Linked DNA regions of Homo sapiens: regions 1, 2, 3 and 5 are each linked to region 4. The links are contacts of gene promoters, found by promoter capture Hi-C in blood cells and fetal thymus (Javierre and others, 2016). All regions are on one chromosome and are shown on one strand. The core of a region is centred on a gene start or on the middle of the fragment in contact, and the rest is flanking DNA. Distances in the headings are between cores, read along the strand shown.

The links. Contacts are between HindIII fragments. The CHiCAGO score rates a contact against its expected background, and 5 or more counts as called.
Region 1: a fragment that was not itself captured here is called in contact with the fragment with the promoter of BCL2 in region 4 in 1 of 17 cell types (non-activated CD4 T cells); the score reaches 5.5 in non-activated CD4 T cells.
Region 2: a fragment that was not itself captured here is called in contact with the fragment with the promoter of BCL2 in region 4 in 1 of 17 cell types (fetal thymus); the score reaches 5.7 in fetal thymus.
Region 3: a contact is called between a fragment that was not itself captured here and the fragment with the promoter of BCL2 in region 4, in 3 of 17 cell types (non-activated CD4 T cells, fetal thymus and total B cells). The highest score is 8.0, in non-activated CD4 T cells.
Region 5: a fragment that was not itself captured here is called in contact with the fragment with the promoter of BCL2 in region 4 in 2 of 17 cell types (M2 macrophages and M1 macrophages); the score reaches 7.6 in M2 macrophages.

Annotation. Positions count from the first base shown.
Region 1 is chr18:62,507,364-62,512,101 of GRCh38, reverse strand. No RefSeq gene overlaps it. Among named protein-coding and RNA genes, the nearest start is that of ZCCHC2, 13 kb to the left of the region's middle. The HindIII fragment of the contact is 3,472 bases long and covers 517-3,988 here.
Region 2 is chr18:62,582,989-62,587,505 of GRCh38, reverse strand. It overlaps a transcript of ZCCHC2 not described here. Among named protein-coding and RNA genes, the nearest start is that of ZCCHC2, 62 kb to the right of the region's middle. RefSeq lists enhancers at 1,036-1,330, 1,202-1,381, 3,247-3,306. The HindIII fragment of the contact is 2,648 bases long and covers 654-3,301 here.
Region 3 is chr18:62,708,301-62,712,927 of GRCh38, reverse strand. No RefSeq gene overlaps it. Among named protein-coding and RNA genes, the nearest start is that of PHLPP1, 4.9 kb to the left of the region's middle. The HindIII fragment of the contact is 2,595 bases long and covers 1,435-4,029 here.
Region 4 is chr18:63,317,405-63,322,009 of GRCh38, reverse strand. BCL2 (BCL2 apoptosis regulator) reads left to right here and starts at 2,241. Exons shown (of 3, transcript NM_000633.3): 1 at 2,241-2,836; 2 at 3,058-3,928. The coding sequence starts at 3,344. RefSeq lists an enhancer at 384-473 and silencers at 1,365-1,434, 1,465-1,674, 1,835-2,024, 3,380-3,619. The HindIII fragment of the contact is 7,545 bases long and covers 1-4,605 here.
Region 5 is chr18:62,612,087-62,616,348 of GRCh38, reverse strand. No RefSeq gene overlaps it. Among named protein-coding and RNA genes, the nearest start is that of ZCCHC2, 91 kb to the right of the region's middle. RefSeq lists an enhancer at 4,063-4,262. The HindIII fragment of the contact is 2,414 bases long and covers 1,323-3,736 here.

The sequences.
Region 1 (4,738 bases), core at 1,003-3,502, 810 kb after region 4:
ATCAGTATTCTCTATTTGATGAAATATTGTTGTCATCCTTTCATTTAATTATTTAAACATTATTTTCTTTAGTTATTTGAATGTATTTAGTCTTTGTCTAGTAAATCAAACATCTGGCCCCCCTCAGAGGTGGTCTCTATTGAGTGCTTCCATCCTCCCCTTCCACTGTGTATGAGTTATACTTACTGTTTCGTAGCATATCATAATTGTTGAAAACTGAACATTTTAGATAATGTGCTATACCAAGTTTGAATTCTGGTCCCCCTCAACTGCAGGTTGTTCTGATTTCTGTTTTGCTTGTTTGTTTAGCGATTTGCATGAACTAATTCTGTGGAATCTGGCTCCCTCACAACATGCAGCAGCTAATGTTTCTGCTCAGTTAATATTATTATTGTCGTTATCATTGTTTTCACTTCATGCCTAATTTCCTAAGGGTTACCCTGGGCCATCATAGCTTACTGGTCAGCCAGTGAGTGGTCAGAAGTTGTGCTTAAAACATCTTGATCTAATAAAGCTTCTACTTTTTAACTGACAGATTTGTGTTTAGGTGAAGATCACATGCAGTGTACAGGCAGTTTACAAGTCTACCCTGCTTTTATTTTTTTTATTTTATTATTTTTTTGAGACGGAGTCTCACTCTGTCGCCCAGGCTGAAGTGCAGTGGCATGGTCTCGGCTCACTGCAACCTTCACTTCCCAGATTCAAGTGATCCTCCTGCCTCAGCCTCCTGAGTAGCTGGGATTACCGGTGCATGCCACCACGACTGAGCTATTTTTTTTGTATTTTTAGTAGAAACGGGGTGTCACCATGTTGGCCAGGCTGGTCTCAAGCTCCTGACCTCAAATGATCCTCCTGCCTTGGCCTCCCAAAATGCTAGAATTACAGGCATGAGCCACCATCCCGGGCCAAGTCTACGCTGATTTTAGTATCTGTATCATAAAGCCTCATATTCAGTCAGCTACATAGCTAGCTAAAGCCATCTCTGGCCTCTCCTGAGCATATGCACAATTATGCATATGCAGGCAGTCTTCCAGACCCCCAGGGATATGTGAGAGCTTATCAGTGCCTACTGTGGCTGTCTCAGTCCCCAGATCACACTGTTAAATTTCTGGTTGGTCTGCTGGTATGTTGTTTACCCTAAACAGTGTTGCAACCTCAGGCTAGCTGCAATACTGGACTTCCCTGATTGTTTACCACTGAGATCCCTATTGTTTTTGACAGTGCTCCTGGGCATAGGTTTTTTTCAAGCTCTGGTACAAATGAACGCAGCCCCTTCTGCCAGCTACCTCCCATGACCTGCTCTGTCCTGGTAGAACTACCACACGATGAAGCTATGGGAAAAGGGTAGATAGGAACAGCCCCGGGGTAAAACACCACAGACCTCCACTGAGCTTACTAAAGTTTAGTGATTTTTTTTCAAAATAATTTCCTTTCAAGTTGTTGTATGACTTTGGTCAATTTACAGTGTACTGACATGGTTGTTTTTGATAATTTTGTCAAATTTTATCATTGCTTTTTGGGGAAAGGATTTGCCATGCTTCTTCCTCAGGCATTCTGGCAATCCTTCCGTATTTTTTGTAAGTGGTTTCTATAGGGGTGCAATAGACATTCTTAACTTTTCACAGTAACTTTAATGTTGTTTCCACTTTATGCAAAATGTAGAAACCTTGTAATAGAATATATAGATTCATTTACCACAACTCATGGTAAACACTTCCCCTGTCTCCTGTTCTTTTTTTTTTCAACTCCCAGTCAGTGAATAGATCTGCTCTTCTTTATGCCTTAGTTACTGTATATCTACCTACAGGTTTCAGGATTTGGATTAAGTAATGATTGGGCCCTCTTTCATTCAAAAAATACAAATGCTTTGAAGAGAGAAAAAACTATAACAAAAACTCTACATGTGTTCTGCATCTTTACATGTGTTCTCATCTCTTTATGTGTTCAATATGTATAGTACATGTCTCATGGTTTAGAATTCTTGAAAGAGGAAAGAAAGCCTTTATGTTTTAGGGACTAGTTACTAAAAGAATGGCTGTAATTCTTTTACTGTATAAAAGGTGCAAATGGTTATTTGGGGCAAAGGTATTATGTGCAGAGTGAGTGATCTGTGAACGCTTGCAATACCTTTACCCTTGTGCAATCACTCAGAACTGAACTTACATATCTTTTACACAGGAGAGAATTGGCATCCACCAATGTTTTGCTACTATTGATCCCAATCACTAAAATCTCTTAGAAATTTCAGGAAATGGTATATTTTCCATCCCTTACTATTCTAGTTTAAAGCATTAAGATTGGGGAAAATCTTTTACACCTTTGTTTCTGGTTTTTTTTTCCTTTGGAATATAATTTATTTACTTTTCAATGCTATCTTTTAGGATATATTTTTTCTCTTGTCCTAAAATTATCTCTTGGTGGAGGGCACTGTTAACTTTTTGCTTTGTGTGTGTGTAGGCTCATGTTATGCTATGTGTATGCTATTTTATGCTATGTGCCTGGTTATAACACATTTATCTATTTTGGAAAGTTAATTTTTAGCAATCAGAGAACATGTTTATCTCACTTGCCAAGAATAGATACTTTACGTTTCTGTTGCATTTCTTGTCTGCAGTGTTTCTCATCTCTTCCCAATTCTTTTAAATCTTAACCACGCTTGAGAACCCAGCTTGAATCACGGCTGGTTCCAGGACTCTTCCCCGGCTCTTCCACCTGGAAATGGTCTTTTCCTCCTTCCTTCATTTATTTCGCAAATAAATATTGAGTGCCCACTCTTTGTAAGACACTGATTAGGTAATAGAAGCTATGTAAAAGTTGTGACAAATAATTTTGCACTGGTAGATATGTGTTTCTATGCAGTCATGCACTGTATAACAATGTTTCAGTTAACCTAGGTTTGTATAAGTATACTCTATGATGTTTGCACAACAGTGAAGTCACGTAATGATGCACTTCTCAGAACATATTCCCATCGTGCAGAGATGCACAAGTATATCATATTTTCTCGGTTAAATTGTGATTTACTTGGGGGTACATCCTTCTCCTTATTGTTTCTTGTATTCCTTATAAAATTTAGCAGGGTGACTTCTACATAGTAAGGGTTCAAGAAAAAGCTGAATTTATATGATTATATTTGTAAATTTTCTTTAAATATACTTAGGTATGCAAGACACAAATAGTTCTTTTCTTTTTTTCTTTTGAGACAGAGTCTTGCTCTGTTGCCCAGGCTGGAGTGCAGTGGTGCGATCTTGGCTCACTGGTTAAAGCAATTCTCCTGCCTCAGCCTCCCAAGTAGCTGGGATTACAGGCACGCGCCACCATGCCCAACTAATGTTTGTATTCTTAGTAGATACGGGGTTTCACCATGTTGGCCGGGCTGGTCTCAAACTCATGGCCACCTTGGCCTCCCAAAGTGCTGGGCTTACAGGTATGAGCCATCACTCCTGGCCTAGGACTGAGTTATTTGAATGCAAATCAGGAAATGGCACATCGGAATTTATTATTTATTTTATTTTATTTTATTATTTTCTAGAGATGGGGGTCTCTCTATGTTGCCCAGGCTGGCCTCAACTCCTAGCCTCAAGTGATACTCATCACATCAGAATTTAGGGTACAAATATAGTCCATAACAATTGGAAATTTTAGTCCAGTCACCTCATTTTCCAACGCTATGATAAACATCCTTGTGAATGCTGTTCTCCTGGTCTAGAAGGCTCTTCTCAGCCTTCTGTGTGTCTAAGGCCCACCATTCTTCATTGTCAGGTTCCACCACTTCCAGAAGACAATAACCTGTCTTCCCCAACCATTTCAGTCCATACGGGTGCCATCTCCCTCTGAACTACTGTAGCACTTACCACCTAGTTCAGCAACCAGATTTCCCCAGCAACTCTTTCTATGTGGAATTCTTGTCTATTCTACGGGATATGGACCACATTATATATATACTTCTCTTTATGCCTGTGTGTCAAATACATTACTGATTAAAGCTTGGTTTTAAAGTCCAAATGTGGTCATATTGGTGAACTGCTATAAACCTTGCAGAGGCATTAGTAAAATAAAGGACTTCTTTTGGTACAAATTAGATGTGTGACAGGCTGCTTTTAACAGAGTATTGGCTTCACACAACTTTAAGTAGTGATTTTACCAGAAATGTTTACATTAAACAGCCTTTTTAGAAAGTAAACTGTTACAACTATCTTGTAAAGTAACCTAACAATATGTATCAAGAATCTTAAAACTTTTCATACCTTTTAGTGCACCTATTTTGGGGAGTTTAACTTAAGGAAACAATCCTAAAGCAGAAAAATAAAAAGCTTTGTATGTAAACATGTTTATAATAGGATATCAGTAATATTGTTGTTCCCAAAAAAGTGAATGAGCAAATACATTATATATACGTATACATACACACACAATATTTTATATGCTGATTGTTTCCACTTGTATTTCCCTGTGTTGATACAAATTTTACTAACTACATTTTTACTAGATATGTAATATTCTCTCATGTATATATAAAATTATATGTTTTATATAACATGTATAATTTAAATTTAAATATATAATATAAATTTATAATTTATATATAGTTATATAATATATATTTTTATATATGTATGAGAGAATATGTATCTAGTAAAAATATAGTTGGTAAAATTTGTATCAACACAGGGAAATACAATAAGTGGAAACAATCAGCATATAAAATTGTATATATGACATAGTCAAAATGATACAC
Region 2 (4,517 bases), core at 728-3,227, 730 kb after region 4:
AAGGAGAACCACGGTCTTCCAGATGCCCTCAGGTACCACTAATGCAGCCCGTGTACAGGAAGATTTTCCTCTGGGACCCACTTCTCCTGGCTCCCTCCCGCGGTGAAGCAGGTGCCTGCAGCCCCTGCCTGCCCCTGCCTGTCTCTGGACCACCCCGCCTCCCAGCTCCTGCAGCAGGACCTGGAGTCTTTCATTCCCCCACCCAGCGCACTCTCCATTAGCTACTCTTCCCAGAAGCACCTTGGGCGATGCTGTTTCCTTTGCCATCTCTCACCTCTTCACTAAGGAAAAGCTCACTTCTTCCTTCTTGGCTCAACTAAAACACGCCCTTTGAAAGTCCTTCCCTCATTCCCCTCCCCATTCTTTCTGATCTTTGGTGCTAGGATGCCCCTCGCTAGGCTGAGCTCCCAGCCAAGGTTTGCTGAATGACTGTGCATAAGAACCAGCAACTTCCTAACCGCTCAGTGCCGCGCACTGCCTGGGCTCACTGCACCCACTTAGCGTCTGTGCCTTCTTAAGCGCCAGAAACTACTGACTGTGCCAAGAAAGCAGAGCCCGAAAAGGAGGGCACGAGTCCCTCCTCCCAGAAAATCAGGACCTTCAAGATAATGCGAAGTGCATCTTTCTTCAGATGAGGCTGATTATGGCAAGCTTTTCCTGTAAGGGACAGACGGTAAATATTTTAGGCTTCGAGGGCCATAGCGTCTCCATCCCAGTTATTCCACTTTGCTGGGATAAGACAAAGCACCCACAGACAACACATAGAGAAGCAAGACGACCGTGTGCTAATGCACTTTATTTGTAGACACTGAAGTTTGAATTTCATGTATTTTTCACGTGTCACTAAACATTCTTTTTCCTTTTTCAACCATTTAAAGATGTAAAAACCATTCTTAGCTTGTCGGTGGTGGGTTGATGCCCCTTGGTTTATGCTGCCAACCCAAGAGCTACGCCTAATTCATATCCTTCAGCACTAAGTCATACAGCTTTATTTTTTTTGACTAAAAGGCCCCTGAAAATGAAAACTTTACACATGCAAGCAGAGAGGAGTCCGAGACTTTCTGACGGGGCAGGAGGGGCAGAAACTGCTCCCTAAGGCCAGGGACAGCCAGACCCGTGCTGATGCTGCCCCCTAGTGACTGGCCAGCCTAACGTCCATCTCCCACCCACGGCCACGCTGTGACGGGTTGGGGGTGTGTTCCCCAACACACGAAATAAGAACTTCAAATCAGTTCAATCAGAAAGCGTAAAGAACTGTAAACCCAATAAATCATTTAAAGTGAAAAAGTAGGCTTCAATTCACAGAATTTTAGAACTGAAAGGAACTTTTGAGATGACTCAGTTCCATTTTTACACCAATTTACCAACGATTCACGTAGCTTTCAGGTAAAAAAAAAAAAAAAAGGCAAGTTCCAGAAAGGGCTGGTGGCCCATGAGTGTTCGCAGAAGAGCCTGCCCGGGAGTCCCGCCTGCTGAATGCCAGTGCAGGGCTGCCTACACCTCACACCGACATACCCACGAAAGACAGAGGTGGCGTGGGGCAGCAACCTTGTTGTCACACTGCCTGGGCTCACCGTCACCCAATCATTCTGTGCCCTTGGATATCGACTTCTTAGCCTTTGTGCCTCAATTTCCCTAACTGTAAAACAGGGCAGAGTTCCTCCCTCACAGGGCTGTGGGACTGAAATGAGCTGATGCTGTCTGGCCCATACTGGGCATTCAAGTGTCCCCTGCATGACAAACTTCTTGAGAGTCCACTATGTGTCAGACATTGAGTGCTTTATGTCTGTGTGCCAGGTTTAATCGTGCAACTACTCTACAACGCGAGTGTCATCATCCCCACTATGTAAATCAGACCGAGAAAGGTCACATGGACTGTGGTGGGTGCCTTCTCTTGTACAACTGATTTTGTGAAGGCGTGGAAGGCACAATTAAGTTACCATGTAACAAATATGACGTGACTCCAATAGGCTAGCAGGAATAAGCACTCAGTAACTGCCAGGCAGCCTGGTGGCATTCTTCACCTTCAGCAGGGCTTGTTGTTGGGGGTGACTGTTCTTGTTTCTGCATGAAGGTTACTTTGTCACCATCCATCTTTGCCTTTGGAGTGTCTTGGGGGCAGCAGGGGTACCTGGGACAATCTATATGTGACTGTCAGAGCTTTAAAAACATCAGCAGTCACCTCTCCTTTCTCCTTGCCCCACTGCTTCAGTAGATTTAATGGAATACTCCGTGCGCAAAACTTGTGTGAAGCACAACTCAGCGTGCGAGTGGAGATATCTGTACACATTTAAAATCTGCATTGATGCCACTTGAATTTATCTGACAGGTAAATGCTTTTGAAAGCCTAGTTCTAAAAGTCCTGGATATTTCTCTGGAAACATTTCACCCTCCCGCGTCCTCAAATCCTTCGAGAGCCACAAGGAAGAGGCCTCGCTATGGGATAGGATGTGGCGTGTGTTCCAGGCGTGCCCACAACCTGGTCCAGCCCTCCTCAGTCCAGAGGCCACACGGCCATTCCACCTGTGGGTTCCTATCACCTTACACAGTTCCATAAAGCCACTGCCCTGGGCTCTGCCAGAAGCACTGGTGGGGGCAGGAAGTGGTGCCAGGAAGTGAGCACCAACTTCAAGCAGAGGCCTGAGCATCACCATGGGCCTGTCTGCAGCACTTCGTCTCACTGAACCCAAAATTTCTCTCCTAGAAAACGAGGGGAAACATTCCCACCCCACTTCACAGCTGTGATGACCAAATGCACGCAGGAAAAGCACAGAGGAAACCTTTAAAGTGTTCACACACACATTTCAACGGCTGAATGAGGGGTTTGCTCAAGCTGCTTTTATGGCCAGCTGCCTGCACTCTTTAAGGTTTTGGGCACAGGCTTCCAACCCCAAATGTTCCCTCTCTTACGTTTAATGTTCTCTAAATTAGGTCAGTAGGAAATAACATCTGCTTGCTCGCACTGTCCTCGTCCCCCACCAGGTGGCATTGCGTTCCAATGAGCAATCTCTTCTGGTGAGAGGCTGGTGGAGGCCTTTTTCACAGCGGCTCAAATTGGAACTGCAAGAGGAAAAAGAAAAACAATGAAGAACCACCCAACCCCCCACCTCACCACAACTCCCACCGCCAAATTTCAGAGAGCAAAACCGGATCATGGGATTGAGAGCTTCTGGTGACCAAGGCCCGCATTCTCTGCAGGCGGAGGTGACTGCGTGAAGGGTCTCCGGTCCCCACACGTGTGATGTGCCCCCATTACAGAACAGACAAGAGGAAGCCCCAAACCACCCCCAATTCCAAAGCTTCCACAATTGATAAACATTTGCATACACACACAGAACTCAGGTGATGTGTACCCATGTTCCAATTCAGGGGGCTTACATTTTTCAACAGAGGACAGCGTTTAGGAATTAGGGAAATTTTGCATGGACAAGCACAACAGCTGTATCTGTAAGCAGCGGTAACATCAAATATGATGTTATTCTGACCCTAGGAATCCAACCTGAGCAAGCCAATACGTTAATGAGCATCCAGGGAAAGACAAGGTTGTCCGCCCTGGCCTGTCCTCTCTCTGCACAGGGTCATCTGAAGGGGCGAGGGCACTCCAGTTAAAACATTCCCTCCACCCCGAGCTGACACCTGCCTCTCAGCCCTGGGACCCCAGAGCCCCTCATCCTTTAACAGCTGGTCTCCTCCCCTAAAGAGAAGAAGATGTAGAGATGTCGTGACTACGTTTCCAGGCAGGGACCCCATTTCTTCATATCTCACACCTCGAAACTCACTGCTCTGGAAATCAATGAGCCCTCCCTCTTGGTGGGGTGGGGTTGGGTGGAGGGGGGGGTCAGTATTTTTTTATTCTTTTAAGATTATGGGAGTGTCATGGGGTGGAACTATTGTCACAGCTTGCCTCCATATGGTTTCACTGCCTTAACCTTAGAATGCTTTTGCAATCAGTATGGAGAAGTGAAAAAGATGTCTTCCAAGCTCAAATGGATGGTGCTGTTAAGTACTAGGTGCTGTTAAGAAAACAGGTATTTTACACCGTGCTTTCTCATCTCTTTGGAACCTTTTCAGAAAAATTTGATTCTTAGTGCTTACATAAAAAATTAAATGTAGATTTGCCTTGCCATAAACTTTTACTTTGGTACTGAATAATCATGACCGTTATGACTCGGCATGTCTGTACAGTCCATACATACCATTAACTGGCAAGCTTTCCAACTAGGTTTAATCTGCGAGGGTAAGGAATAGCTTCTATATCGTTCATCAGTGCATAGAGCAAAATTAACTAATCTTAGTCTAATGAAGAGCTATGTTTGCTAGGTTCCTCACCATCCAAAGAATCACTGCCATCACTCCTACCCAAACCTGTTCTCGTCCACATCTTCCCTTTTATTAAAAAAAAAAGACACGGTCTCACTCTGTCACCTAGGCTGGAGTGCAGTGGCATGATCTGGGCTCACTGAAGCCTCTGCCTGCTGGGCTCAAGCGATCTTCCTGCCTCAGCCTCCTGAGTAGCT
Region 3 (4,627 bases), core at 1,483-3,982, 610 kb after region 4:
TCGGCTCAATGCAACCTCCACCTCCCAGGTTCAAGCGATTCTCCTGCCTCAACCGCCCAAGTAGCTGGGATTACAGGCACACACCACCACGTCCGGCTAATTTTTGTATTTTTAGTAGAGACAGGGTTTTGCCATGTTGGCCAGGCTGGTCTCAAACTCCTGACTTCAGGTGATCCATATGCCTCGGCCTCCCAAAGTGCTGGGATTACAAACGAGAGCCACCACGGCCGGCATGTTTGTTTATTTATTTATTTATTTATTTTTTGAGATGGAGTTTCACTCTTGTTGCCCAGGCTGGAGTGCAATGGTGCCATCTCAGCTCAATGCAACCTCTGCCTCCGGGGTTCAAGCGATTCTCCTGCCTCAGCCTCCTGAGTAGCTGGGACTACTGGCGCATACCACCACGCCCAGCTACTTTTTAAATTTTTTTGTAAAGATGGGGTTTCACCATATTGCCCCGGCTGGTCTCAAACTTCTGACCTGAAGTGATCCACCTGCCTCGGCCTCCCAAAGGGCTGGGATTACAGGCGTGAGCCACCACACCTAACCCAGAATGTTTCTTCTAATCATAAATTCTATCGCCATTGCTCCTTCTCTAAGAAATTACAATACCGCATTGAATCCACCCATGGTTCCTATTATTTAACATTACACAATCACCGCAACTCTGCCTTTTTTATTCTCTAGCAATTTTGTTTACTCTTTGAAGGTATTTATAACTAAAACACCTTTTTCAAGGGGAAAAAAATTTGTACCAAAAACATTGCTCAGGTTGGGCGCAGTGGCTTACGCCTGTAATCCCAGCATTTTGGGAGGCCAAGGCGGGCGGATCACCTCAGGCCAGGAGTTGGAGACCAGCCTGGCCAACATGGCGAAACCCCGCCTCCACTGAAAATACAAAAAATTAGCCGGGCGTGGTGGCGGGTGCCTGTAATTTCAGCCACTCAGGAGGCGGAGGACTCAGTGAGCCGCGATTGCGCCATTGCACTCCTCCAGCCTGAGCAACAAGAGAGAAATTCTGTCTCAAAAAAAAAATAAAGACATTGCTCAGAGGATTTAGTATCCAAATAATGGGGAAATGGGGACTGGAGAGCCATCATACACTCCTGGCAGATAGGGGCTTGGTACTGGGATACCTAATACTAAGTGGTGTCGGGAGGAGGCAGGAAATGAACAGGATGAATATTGTTACAGTACCTCAGCATAACGAAGAAGGAAATACATTCCTACCTCATAAAAACAGTGTTTGGAGGGGTGGGGACCTAAAATACAATTTTCCTGGATTTCATGCATAGAGTCCATCATCTGAAGATGACATATTCCATTGTATGCAGAATAATGTAAATCAGAGCTAAGGGGAGAGCAAAAGGGCCGGGGTCCACTGTGTAATCCTTCCCTTGTTCTGACCCAAGCCCCCAGTGATGTTACTAAGCTTGGGGTAAGAGAAGAAACAGAAAGAAAATGAGAGCTCCTGAAGAATAAACAATCCCTTACCGCCAGATCAACTGGATCCTTGTAGTTGAAAGAACAAATTGATAAAGGGCAATGAAACTTGTACTTAGAGCTTGCTAGTATCGGGAAACATCACCCAGACCATCTGTGCCAATGCACTCTATACAATTTCTCCAAATAAGAAAAAGATTTCAATAAAAGACAAATGTGTTCCAGACACCCATGAAATGGCAGCTTCTCCTACTTGAAAGTGGAGTGGGGAATACACCAGTATCCTAAAACCACATACATCATGAATGCCCCCCTTTAAAGTGTTCCAAATGTACGTTCTAATACCACATTTCTGACTAACCACACTTTCCAAAGAATCCCATTTTGAAATGCTAAAAGATAATCCTGAAAAGAAACATCAGATGCAAAAGTTGTGAATCCTGATGCCAACTTGTTAAAATATTTTCACATCTAAGTTTAGAAAAGGAGAACACAATTTTCAATTTATTGCCACAGTTTACTTTATGCTGTGTGATTTATAACTGACTTGCTATGATCTGCATCTAGGTTAATTCTGTTTGAATCCTTAGAACTAAGATAAAAGAAGTCATCTTTGGAGGTTTATTTTCTAATATAAGCAGTTGGAATTTTAATAGAGGCATAAATTGATAGCTGGGATGATTTCAGTCTGAGTTGTTAAGGGCTCAGCTGTGTCCAGAAATAAACTCAGAAAGATGCAATATACAATGTAATACATTTAGTTCCTACATTATGAACAAGGGATCTAATTATAGTTTCACATTTTTATATCCCTTGAGCTACTAGTGGTTTACCATGCCTAAATTGTTCACTGTTTACTCATTCTTTTTTACTATGAGGGACCCATTTAGCAAATTACTGCTCTAGTGCACTAAATGGGCCCCAGGTGGCCAAACTGAATTAATATGTTCCCTGTTCACTGGCAGGATGAGACCTTATGGTCTCTCTGAAGTCTTACCCCTCCCTCATAAAATTTACAATCTGAATTCAATCAAGAGCTTGGATTGCTACTATCATTTTAGGTAATCTGTTTTATAGATACGGCTTGATAGCTTTTCAGATTTTAGTGCACCCTTTTTAATCCCATAATTCTTTGTCTTGTTCTTATTTCTCACATCCTGCCTCACCAAAGTAAACAGATGTTCCATACGTGGCAACAATTAAGTTTTAGAACAGAAATACAGGCGGCGTAAACCCACCCCAATACCCTAATAATGTAAATTACCTGGGACATTCATTCAACAAGTACTTATTGAACTTTTTTTTTTTTTGAGATGGAATCTCGCTCTTGTCACCCAGGCTGGAGTACAGTGGCGCAATCTCCGCTCACTGCAAGCTCCGCCTCCGGCGCTCAAGTGATTCTCCTGCCTCAGCCTCCTGAGCAGCTGGGATTACTGGCGCCTGCCACCACACCCAGCTAATTTTTGTATTTTTTTTTTTAGTAGAGATGGGGTTTCACCATGTTGGCCAGGCTGGTCTCAAACTCCTGACCTCAGGTGATCCACCCATCTCGGTCTCCCAAAGTGCTGGGATTACAGGCGTAAGCCACTGCACCCGACTACTTATTGAACGTTTAAGTGTAGGTATCATTCATCCTAAGTAAACAGTATAGACAAAAATACCTGATCTAATGAAGCCTATTTATAGGCATTGGCATTTAATAAAAAATCTTCAATTAAAATCAACCTATTCTCTTCCGTTGTACAGATAATTTTTGTTTGGGGCAAACAGGAAACATGAAAATCTATATATACAAATTACATATTAGAGTATAAATATTTCTTCTCAAAGTCTCATTTATTCTTTCCCTTATGAATGAAATCATCATACAATTGTTTTAAGTACTCTTATAATATGAATACATTTAAAATATATTAATTTTAAAAATTAATTTATACCTAGCTTTTTAGAAACATATTTTGGATTCTAACCTCACACAAGCACCTAATACCTGTTTGCATCAAGATTCTTATCTAGGACAGGCACAGTGGCTCATGCCTGTAATAAGAGCACTTTGGGAGGCCAAGGCGGGTGGATCACCTGAGGTCAGGAGTTCCAGACCAGCCTGGCCAACATGGCGAAACCCTGTCTCTACAAAAATACAAAAATTAGCCAGGCGTGATGGCTCGTGCCTGTAATCCCAGTTACTCGGGAGGCTGAGGCGGGAGAATCGCATGAACCTGGGAGGCAGAGGTTGCAGTGAGCTGAGATTGGGCCATGGCACTCCAGCCTGGGCTACTGAGCAAGACTCCATCTCAAAAAAAACAAAAGATAAAAAAGATTCCTATCTAACAAAAATCTATTTTCCTACGCCATCCCAAAACATTTATTCTGATTCTTCCGTGACTAAAAAGAGAAAAGTATTCTCCAGATAATGATTCCTCCATACTTACATTCATTAATTATACCGTGAAGAAGCAGCATGGATATTCTTTTCTTTTTTCCGCCCCATTGTAGAGAGGTTTTAGGAGACTCCATCAGTCCCTAGAAATCTTGCCCTTTTTCCCTCTACTCCCTGCCACATCTAGTGGTCTAGACTCCTAAGCTTATTAGTTTCCTGGGGCTGCTGTAATAAACCACCATGAAGTGGGTGGCTCAAAACAACAAAAATTTATCCTTTTGTTACCGGTAAACTTGAGGGCCCCAAAAGATGGGGTCTTTCCTCCTTCATTGCTGCAGAGCCAATACACAACTGAAAGTGAGCATCACCCACAGCAAGGTTTAGTCTGTGGCCAGGGAATGAAGAAGTGGGAGCATGGCTGGCAAATCACCTTCTCAACTAGTGCAGGATGAGGGGGCTAAAATGTAAGGCTTCTTAATGAAGGAGTTGGACACTAAAAGTGAGGGGAGAGTCCAGGCATGGTGGCTCACACCTGTACTCCCAGCACTTTGAGAGGTCAAGGCAGGTGGATCGCTTGAGGCCAGGAGCTCGAGACCAGCCTGGACAACATGATGAAACCCCGTCTCTACTAAAAATACAAAAATTAACTAAGCATGGTGGCCTGTGCCAGTAATCCCAGCTACTTGGTAGGCTGAGGCAGGAGAATTGCTTGAACCTGGGAGGTGGAGGTTGCAGTGAGCTGAGATTGCGCCACTGCACTCCAGCCTGGGCGACAGAGCGAGACTCTGTCTCAAAAAAATACTA
Region 4 (4,605 bases), core at 992-3,491:
AGTAAAAATTAAAAAAATCATAATTTGGTGTGCTTTTCTGGCTTTTTAAAGAATGTTTTGATTTTAGAGTAGGAATGAGACAAAATAAAGATGTCAGGCAGGGCACAGTGGCTCATGTCTGTAATCCCAGCACTTTGGGAGGCTGAGGCAGGCGGATAACGAGGTCAGGAGTTCGAGACCAGCCTGGCCAGTATGGCGAAACCCCGTCTCTACTAAAAATACAAAAATTAGCAGAGCGTAGTGGCGTGCACGTGTAATCCCAGCTACTCAGGAGGCTGAGGCAGAATTGCTTGAGCCTGGGAGGCAGAGGTTGCAGTGAGCTGAGATCGCACCACTGCACACCAGCCTCCAAGATACAACAGAGCAAGACTCTGTCTCAAAAAAAAAAAAAAAGTCATAGCATATTTGTACACATTGTAGTACTCATTTGTCATCTTTCTTGACCCCAATAATCCAGTGTCCCTATATATTTGCACTCGAGCCCTATTAAGTAAGCCGCTGTGCTTCTAGAAGACCTTTTTCTTTTCTTGGTGCTTTGTCAAAGACTCTTGGAGATAAAAATACACACGTGCAACTTGTTTGTCCTCTTGTCCTTTTTTGCTAGGGGCTATTCATGCTGATTAATTTAAAACTGTCTGCTTGCGCGTACACACGTCTGCGAGTGTGAATGTGTATGTGTGTATCTATGTACCTCATTTGAGAAAGTGCGGCCAACTAGGATTGGCTACGAGGCAAAGGTGGAGACCTTTAGGAGCCCACCCACCCCAGCGTTAGGACGGTGGGCCTGAAAGTTACTATATGGAAGTCCTCATCGTGTAGCACTAAACCAGTGTAAAAGGTGTTAGGGACAGAGGGAAAACATTGACTTAAACTGTCGTAAAGCCCTTGATAAACCCCTTCCCTGGAGCGCTGAGTTCTGCATGGCCTGGGCCACGGACTAGGTGTTCAGGTGGACACGGGCGGGGATGCGCGTGCGTGTGTAGTGCGCGGACACCTAGGAAGCTACTTGAAAGTAAACACCACGCTCGGGGCGTCCCTAGACATTGCTTAAAACGTGCAGAGTCACCTGTCTTCACAGCAGGGCAGCGCTGAGGTCCCACTGCTGGGGGCGGTGGGGGGCGGCATTGGCCTGGGTCTTCCCCCGGCGGCCGAGCGCCGGTAACACAACGTGTGTGTGTGTAGGCGCGTGTACACACTCTCATACACGGCTAGAAAGGGTCCAGGCGACACACACACTCCCACATACACGGCTAGAAAAGGTCCAGGCGAGACACACACACACACACACACACACACACACACTCCACACACACTCACACGGCCAGAAAGGGTCCAGGCGGTTCCCGGCGCTTTTCCAGCCCTTGTTTTCATGGCGCACCCTCCCGCCAGCCGCCCCCCTCCGCACTCCGTCGTCCGCCCGGCCCGGCCGCGTGCGGTTCCCCGGGAGCCCCCACCCCGTCGCGGACCCCAGCGACCACCAAGTCCGCACGCGGCCTGCCGCAGGCCTGAGCAGAAGGCCCCGCGCACACCCACCGCGCCGCGGCCGCGCGGGAGGCCTGTGCCGCCCGCGCCACCCACTGGCCGGGCCCCGCGGGCGCAGCGGAGCGGGCGGGTGGCCGGCCCGGACGCGCCCTCCCCGGCCGCGGCCCCGCGCGCCATGTGCCCCCGGCGGGACGCGCCACTCCCGGGCCTGCCGCGGCGCCTTTAACCCGGGCCAGGGAGCGGGGCGGAGGGGGCGGTCGGGTGGCTCAGAGGAGGGCTCTTTCTTTCTTCTTTTTTTGAATGAACCGTGTGACGTTACGCACAGGAAACCGGTCGGGCTGTGCAGAGAATGAAGTAAGAGGACAGGCACCACAGCCCCGCTCCCGCCCCCTTCCTCCCGCGCCCGCCCCTCCGCGCCGCCTGCCCGCCCGCCCGCCGCGCTCCCGCCCGCCGCTCTCCGTGGCCCCGCCGCGCTGCCGCCGCCGCCGCTGCCAGCGAAGGTGCCGGGGCTCCGGGCCCTCCCTGCCGGCGGCCGTCAGCGCTCGGAGCGGGCTGCGCGGCGGGAGCTCCGGGAGGCGGCCGTAGCCAGCGCCGCCGCGCAGGACCAGGAGGAGGAGAAAGGGTGCGCAGCCCGGAGGCGGGGTGCGCCGGTGGGGTGCAGCGGAAGAGGGGGTCCAGGGGGGAGAACTTCGTAGCAGTCATCCTTTTTAGGAAAAGAGGGAAAAAATAAAACCCTCCCCCACCACCTCCTTCTCCCCACCCCTCGCCGCACCACACACAGCGCGGGCTTCTAGCGCTCGGCACCGGCGGGCCAGGCGCGTCCTGCCTTCATTTATCCAGCAGCTTTTCGGAAAATGCATTTGCTGTTCGGAGTTTAATCAGAAGAGGATTCCTGCCTCCGTCCCCGGCTCCTTCATCGTCCCCTCTCCCCTGTCTCTCTCCTGGGGAGGCGTGAAGCGGTCCCGTGGATAGAGATTCATGCCTGTGCCCGCGCGTGTGTGCGCGCGTGTAAATTGCCGAGAAGGGGAAAACATCACAGGACTTCTGCGAATACCGGACTGAAAATTGTAATTCATCTGCCGCCGCCGCTGCCTTTTTTTTTTCTCGAGCTCTTGAGATCTCCGGTTGGGATTCCTGCGGATTGACATTTCTGTGAAGCAGAAGTCTGGGAATCGATCTGGAAATCCTCCTAATTTTTACTCCCTCTCCCCGCGACTCCTGATTCATTGGGAAGTTTCAAATCAGCTATAACTGGAGAGTGCTGAAGATTGATGGGATCGTTGCCTTATGCATTTGTTTTGGTTTTACAAAAAGGAAACTTGACAGAGGATCATGCTGTACTTAAAAAATACAAGTAAGTTCTCTGCACAGGAAATTGGTTTAATGTAACTTTCAATGGAAACCTTTGAGATTTTTTACTTAAAGTGCATTCGAGTAAATTTAATTTCCAGGCAGCTTAATACATTCTTTTTAGCCGTGTTACTTGTAGTGTGTATGCCCTGCTTTCACTCAGTGTGTACAGGGAAACGCACCTGATTTTTTACTTATTAGTTTGTTTTTTCTTTAACCTTTCAGCATCACAGAGGAAGTAGACTGATATTAACAATACTTACTAATAATAACGTGCCTCATGAAATAAAGATCCGAAAGGAATTGGAATAAAAATTTCCTGCATCTCATGCCAAGGGGGAAACACCAGAATCAAGTGTTCCGCGTGATTGAAGACACCCCCTCGTCCAAGAATGCAAAGCACATCCAATAAAATAGCTGGATTATAACTCCTCTTCTTTCTCTGGGGGCCGTGGGGTGGGAGCTGGGGCGAGAGGTGCCGTTGGCCCCCGTTGCTTTTCCTCTGGGAAGGATGGCGCACGCTGGGAGAACAGGGTACGATAACCGGGAGATAGTGATGAAGTACATCCATTATAAGCTGTCGCAGAGGGGCTACGAGTGGGATGCGGGAGATGTGGGCGCCGCGCCCCCGGGGGCCGCCCCCGCACCGGGCATCTTCTCCTCCCAGCCCGGGCACACGCCCCATCCAGCCGCATCCCGGGACCCGGTCGCCAGGACCTCGCCGCTGCAGACCCCGGCTGCCCCCGGCGCCGCCGCGGGGCCTGCGCTCAGCCCGGTGCCACCTGTGGTCCACCTGACCCTCCGCCAGGCCGGCGACGACTTCTCCCGCCGCTACCGCCGCGACTTCGCCGAGATGTCCAGCCAGCTGCACCTGACGCCCTTCACCGCGCGGGGACGCTTTGCCACGGTGGTGGAGGAGCTCTTCAGGGACGGGGTGAACTGGGGGAGGATTGTGGCCTTCTTTGAGTTCGGTGGGGTCATGTGTGTGGAGAGCGTCAACCGGGAGATGTCGCCCCTGGTGGACAACATCGCCCTGTGGATGACTGAGTACCTGAACCGGCACCTGCACACCTGGATCCAGGATAACGGAGGCTGGGTAGGTGCACTTGGTGATGTGAGTCTGGGCTGAGGCCACAGGTCCGAGATGCGGGGGTTGGAGTGCGGGTGGGCTCCTGGGGCAATGGGAGGCTGTGGAGCCGGCGAAATAAAATCAGAGTTGTTGCTTCCCGGCGTCCCTACCTCCTCCTCTGGACAAAGCGTTCACTCCCAACCTGACCGATAACGCCTGCCATCTAAAAGTCTTTAACTTGCTTGCTAGTCGTGGAGATCCAAAGATCTAGCGTTTGTAATCCAGTAGGATGTGGTGGTAAATGGTACCCCTTCAGTGTTTCTCAAGCTGAAGGTCCAGGAGTCCCCAGGACCACCGTTTCCTGGCTTGAGCAGCTTGTTGGAACCGGAGGGAGGTTTCAGGGACTGCTTATGAACCAGATACCAGGTTGGGTCTTGACAGTCTGCATCCCAAACAAGCTCCCCTGAAACAAGCCCGTTGTACACTAAAATTGGAGAACAACCCGATTAGAAGAATAGACTCCACAGAAGACCAAGGGCATCATCAATCGGTAAAATTTTCCAAAAGAGGAAAACCAATGTAAGTCTTTTTCCCTGAAAAACTTAGTTGTGTTTGTAAAGAGCTAAGTTGACATTCCAAAGTCCTTGGACTGGAATCTCCAGTGTGTGCCATGTTCCCAGTGGGCGTGATGAGGTGTCCTGAGG
Region 5 (4,262 bases), core at 1,280-3,779, 710 kb after region 4:
TATTCCCCTTGATTCGTACCAGCTGCCCTGGGAACCCACAAATGGGACTGATGGTAGATGTTTATTTTCCAAAGGACACTTTCCTCATTTATCTTGAATTTGTCATTTAAATTCTTTGGGGGAGAATTAAAAACCCTGCTGGTGAATGAAAGACAATTCCTACCAAGTGAAACTTACCATTCTAGAAATGATTAGCCATCCCCTTCACCCTCACCTAACCATCTAGATGTTTTGGTCCAGTCGCCAAAGCTTGGATTTGAGCTCTAGGTCGAGGATGCTGTGGTCTCCTCGCATATTGAAGACTGTGCCAGTTCAACAAGTCTGACTCCCATCAGTCTTTCAGGCTCCTGTCATAGCAGTAGGAGGAGTCTGGAAGACAATGTTAGGTGCTGGGATCTCTGTTGAAGTCAGTGGAATGTGGAGAGTTTAGAATCAAAGCATTTGCCAGAATTATTCTGATACTCTAGAGGATTTGCTGTATGGATATGCTATACTAGTATGTCATTTATAAAAGCGTGTTTAGGCTGGGCATGGTGGCTCACACCTGTAATCCCAGCACTTTGGGAGGCTGAGGCGGGCGGATCATGAGGTCAAGAGATCGAGACCATCCTGGCTAACACGGTGAAACCCCGTCTCTACTAAAAATACAAAAAATTAGCTGGGCGTGGTGGCGGGCACCTGTAGTGCCAGCTACTCGGGAGGCTGAGGCAGGAGAATGGTGTGAACCCGGGAGGTGCAGCTTGCAGTGAGCTGAGATTGCGCCACTGCACTCCAGCCTGTGCGACAGAGCGAGACTCCGTCTCAAAAAAAAAAAAAAGCGTGTTTAGTATTTTCATCTTTATAATATTTATTGAGAGCTACGCATTTATAGCACTGTGCTGAAACTCTTTATATAACTGACGCCTCTGGCTAATATCTTTCATTGGCCACGTGAGCTTCAATTTGTATACTGTGTGAAAGCAGTGAAATTTTTGACTTTCAAATACCGTTCTTCAGTTGTCAGCAGGATAATAAAGTATTCAGAATTAGTTTGGTAGGCAATGCTTACTGGGCATATTATTGCCTTTTGCTTCTCTATTGCTACTTATAACACATTAAAGAAAATTATATTTTTGGAACCCATTTTCACACACACACACAGTTTGGAAGAGAGAAAAGAGATGGAGCTATTTTAGGATCTGTATTTTCAAAGAATAGCAACTCTCTAAGTGACAAGAGAGCAAGTAGAACCAACTTTATAATTAAAGGATGGTGTAGGTTGTAGAAAAGGGATGATACAGGTTTGGAATGATGAATAAGACAGTCCTTACTCTTAATAAGCTTGCGTTCTAGTGGAGTGTGGGAGACCAATACATCAAAATAGTAGTGACCACATGTCCCCAGTCCAAATTTGGGACATGTGGTCTCAAAAGAATGAGTGCACTTTCTGGGGACAACTGGACCACCTGTTTGAAATGTTAGCAGATTTAGGACATGTAGTTGCCATACTTAGAACAGAAGATGGGGTAAGAAAAGCTGTTCAGGAGGCATGTGTAGTTGCTATGCAGCTTCGGGGAGGAAGCGCTCACAGCATCACACTCTCCTTCAGGCTCCACGAAGCAGCTAGCTCAGCGCCTACTTCTGGATCGTCTACCCTTTGCCAGGTACTAAACTAATGGTTGCCGTGCCATGCTCCAGAGCAGCTATGCACTTCCCTTTAAACCAGTCACATGCGTGTGTGAGCTGGCTGTCTGGGCCTGGGTCTTGAAGAAACTTCCCTCTTTCGGTTCATACACATGTGTGTGCAAGGAGACTGTCGGGGTGAAGAGGCTCTGACACTTTAGGGTGGCATCAGGGGCACAGGCTCTCCCCTAAATTCAACTTCAGAAATACAGATTTAAAACAATTCTTTTGAGAAATATTGCATATCTATGAAACCAAAAAAAAAAAAGGAGAAGAAAAACAAAAGAAAGAAAAAAATCCGGCGGGTGGATCACGAGGTCAGGAGATTGAGACCATCCTGGCTAACATGGTGAAACCCCATCTCTATTAAAAATACAAAAAATTAGCCGGGCGTGGTGGTGGACACCTGTAGTCCCAGCTACTTGGGAGGCTGAGGCAGGAGAATGGCGTGAACCCGGGAGGCAGAGCTTGCAGTGAGCCGAGATTGCACCACTGCACTCCAGCCTGGGTGACAGAGCAAGACTCCATCTCAAAAAAAAAAAAAAAGAAAAAAAAGAAAAAAAAATCCATTTGACATGAAGGGGACTGGATATTCATATATTGCTAGTGGTACTAACAATAGATGTATTCTTTATTTATTTTTTTTTTTTTTGAGACAGAGTCTCACTCTGTCACCCAGGCTGGAGTGCAGTGGTGCGCTCTTGGTTCACTGAAACTTCCAACCCTTGGGTTCAAGCAATTCTCATGCCTCAGCCTCCTGCGTAGCTGGGATTACAGGCATGTGCCACCACGCCTGGCTAATTTTGTATTTTTAGTACAGACAGAGTTTCATCATGTTGGCCAGGCTGGTCTTGAACTCCTGATCTTAGGTGATCCACCTGTCTCGGCCTCCCAAAGTGCTGGGATTATAGGCATGAGCCACCATGCCCGGCTTGCGTATTCTTATAGAAAAGGAATCTGACACTATGTGAGAGGGCATCAAACACTTTAGACCCTTTGATCCAATAGTTTCACTTGGGAAAACGTACCTCAAAATGAAAACACAAAACATTGATTTTCTTTTCTATAAAAAAATCAATTGCAGCACTGTAAAATGAACAATGGGAAACAACCAATACTCCACAATGGGAAAACATTAATTAATAAAATCTTTTTAGCCCCTAGACATCGTGAGAGTACACCAGTAAATGAGAATGTGTAGATGAAATATTTAGTGAAGAAAAGTAGAACATGAAATTATATGTACATACTGATTACAACCTTGTAAGCTGATGGAGATACCAATTTATATCCAAAGAGACTTTTTAGGAAAGGAACAGCTGTTTAGTATTGATGAGATTTTTCTGTAAGTTGTTGGCATTGATATTTTTTTAAGAAGGAAGAGTGAGTATGGCAGGGGTGTTAGTTGAACTATGAGTCTTGAATCTCACTGAGTTTTTTGTTGGTTTATGTTATTGAGAGGCATGGTGCAAGTACTTTGTGACTAAGAGTGAAAGGACCATTCTTTGGTTTATTATAATATATTAATAAACTAGAGGTGATTCAAGTGTCTCTACAATGAAGTCACTACCACACGCTTGCATTTTGAGATGCTTTCTTTAGTGGCGGCAGAAGGGACAGAGCCACTTGCCACTTTGTAGTTATTATTGGCTCCTGGTCCTGCAAGTGTGAATGTCAGCTGTCATTCACATGAGGGAAGTTGGAACTGACGAACTGTCGTGATGTGTATGACAGTCTTGTTCCCTAATCATTAATACCATGCCACCTGATCTCTTCAGTCTCAGAAATAATTACATTTCCTCTTTCCTTCTCATGTGAAAGCCTGCCCACTGGAGTAGGCAGGAGAGTAGGTCCTTCCTACCCCCTCTCTTGCCAACAGGAAGGCCTCTCAGCTAAGATCCCCAAAGGAGCAGTGCCCAGGTGTTCTCTGCAGCTTCCCCGTCTTGACGACCTCCTAGTTATGACATCCACTAAATGCTTTCCTTGAGCTCTCTGCAGCATTGCATGCTGGAACCACTCGTCTCCTTGAAACTTTCCTTGGGGTTATGCCTGACTCTAGCACTTAGGAGAAGCTTATGTAGAAGATCAGGCAAAAAAGGGCTTCCCCTCCGCGGAAGGCTGGCACTTCTGCACTCCCTCGGGGCCACCCTGATACCATGCAGAGAACAGAGTAGAGAGGCAGGGTTCAACCCCCCATGGGGCTGCTTCCCTGCCAGTCTGTCTGGCATCCTAACTCCATAAGGTGGCAGCAGGGCAGGAGATTTCTGACACCAGAGAGACCTGACAGCAAGAAGCCTGCAGAAGCAGCCAGACCCAGCCAGACCCAGACCCAGGATTGAGAGTGGGTCTAGGAACCACTCCTCTGTGCACTTAAGCTGCAGCCAGGCCATTCGGAAGGAAGTAAGGACATTTCCCCCTGGAATCGCCTAGCTTCTGTCAGCTCTGTGTGACATGGATGGAAATACATCCCACTTGCCTTGCTAGCAAAACTCCCCACCCCTGCAGAGTCAGCTGCAGGAACGGAGGCAGCCAGGATGGTGACGCAGGAGGGAGGGCGGCCTCCCCCACTCCACGGAGGGCCGCAGGAGCCAGCGGGCAGC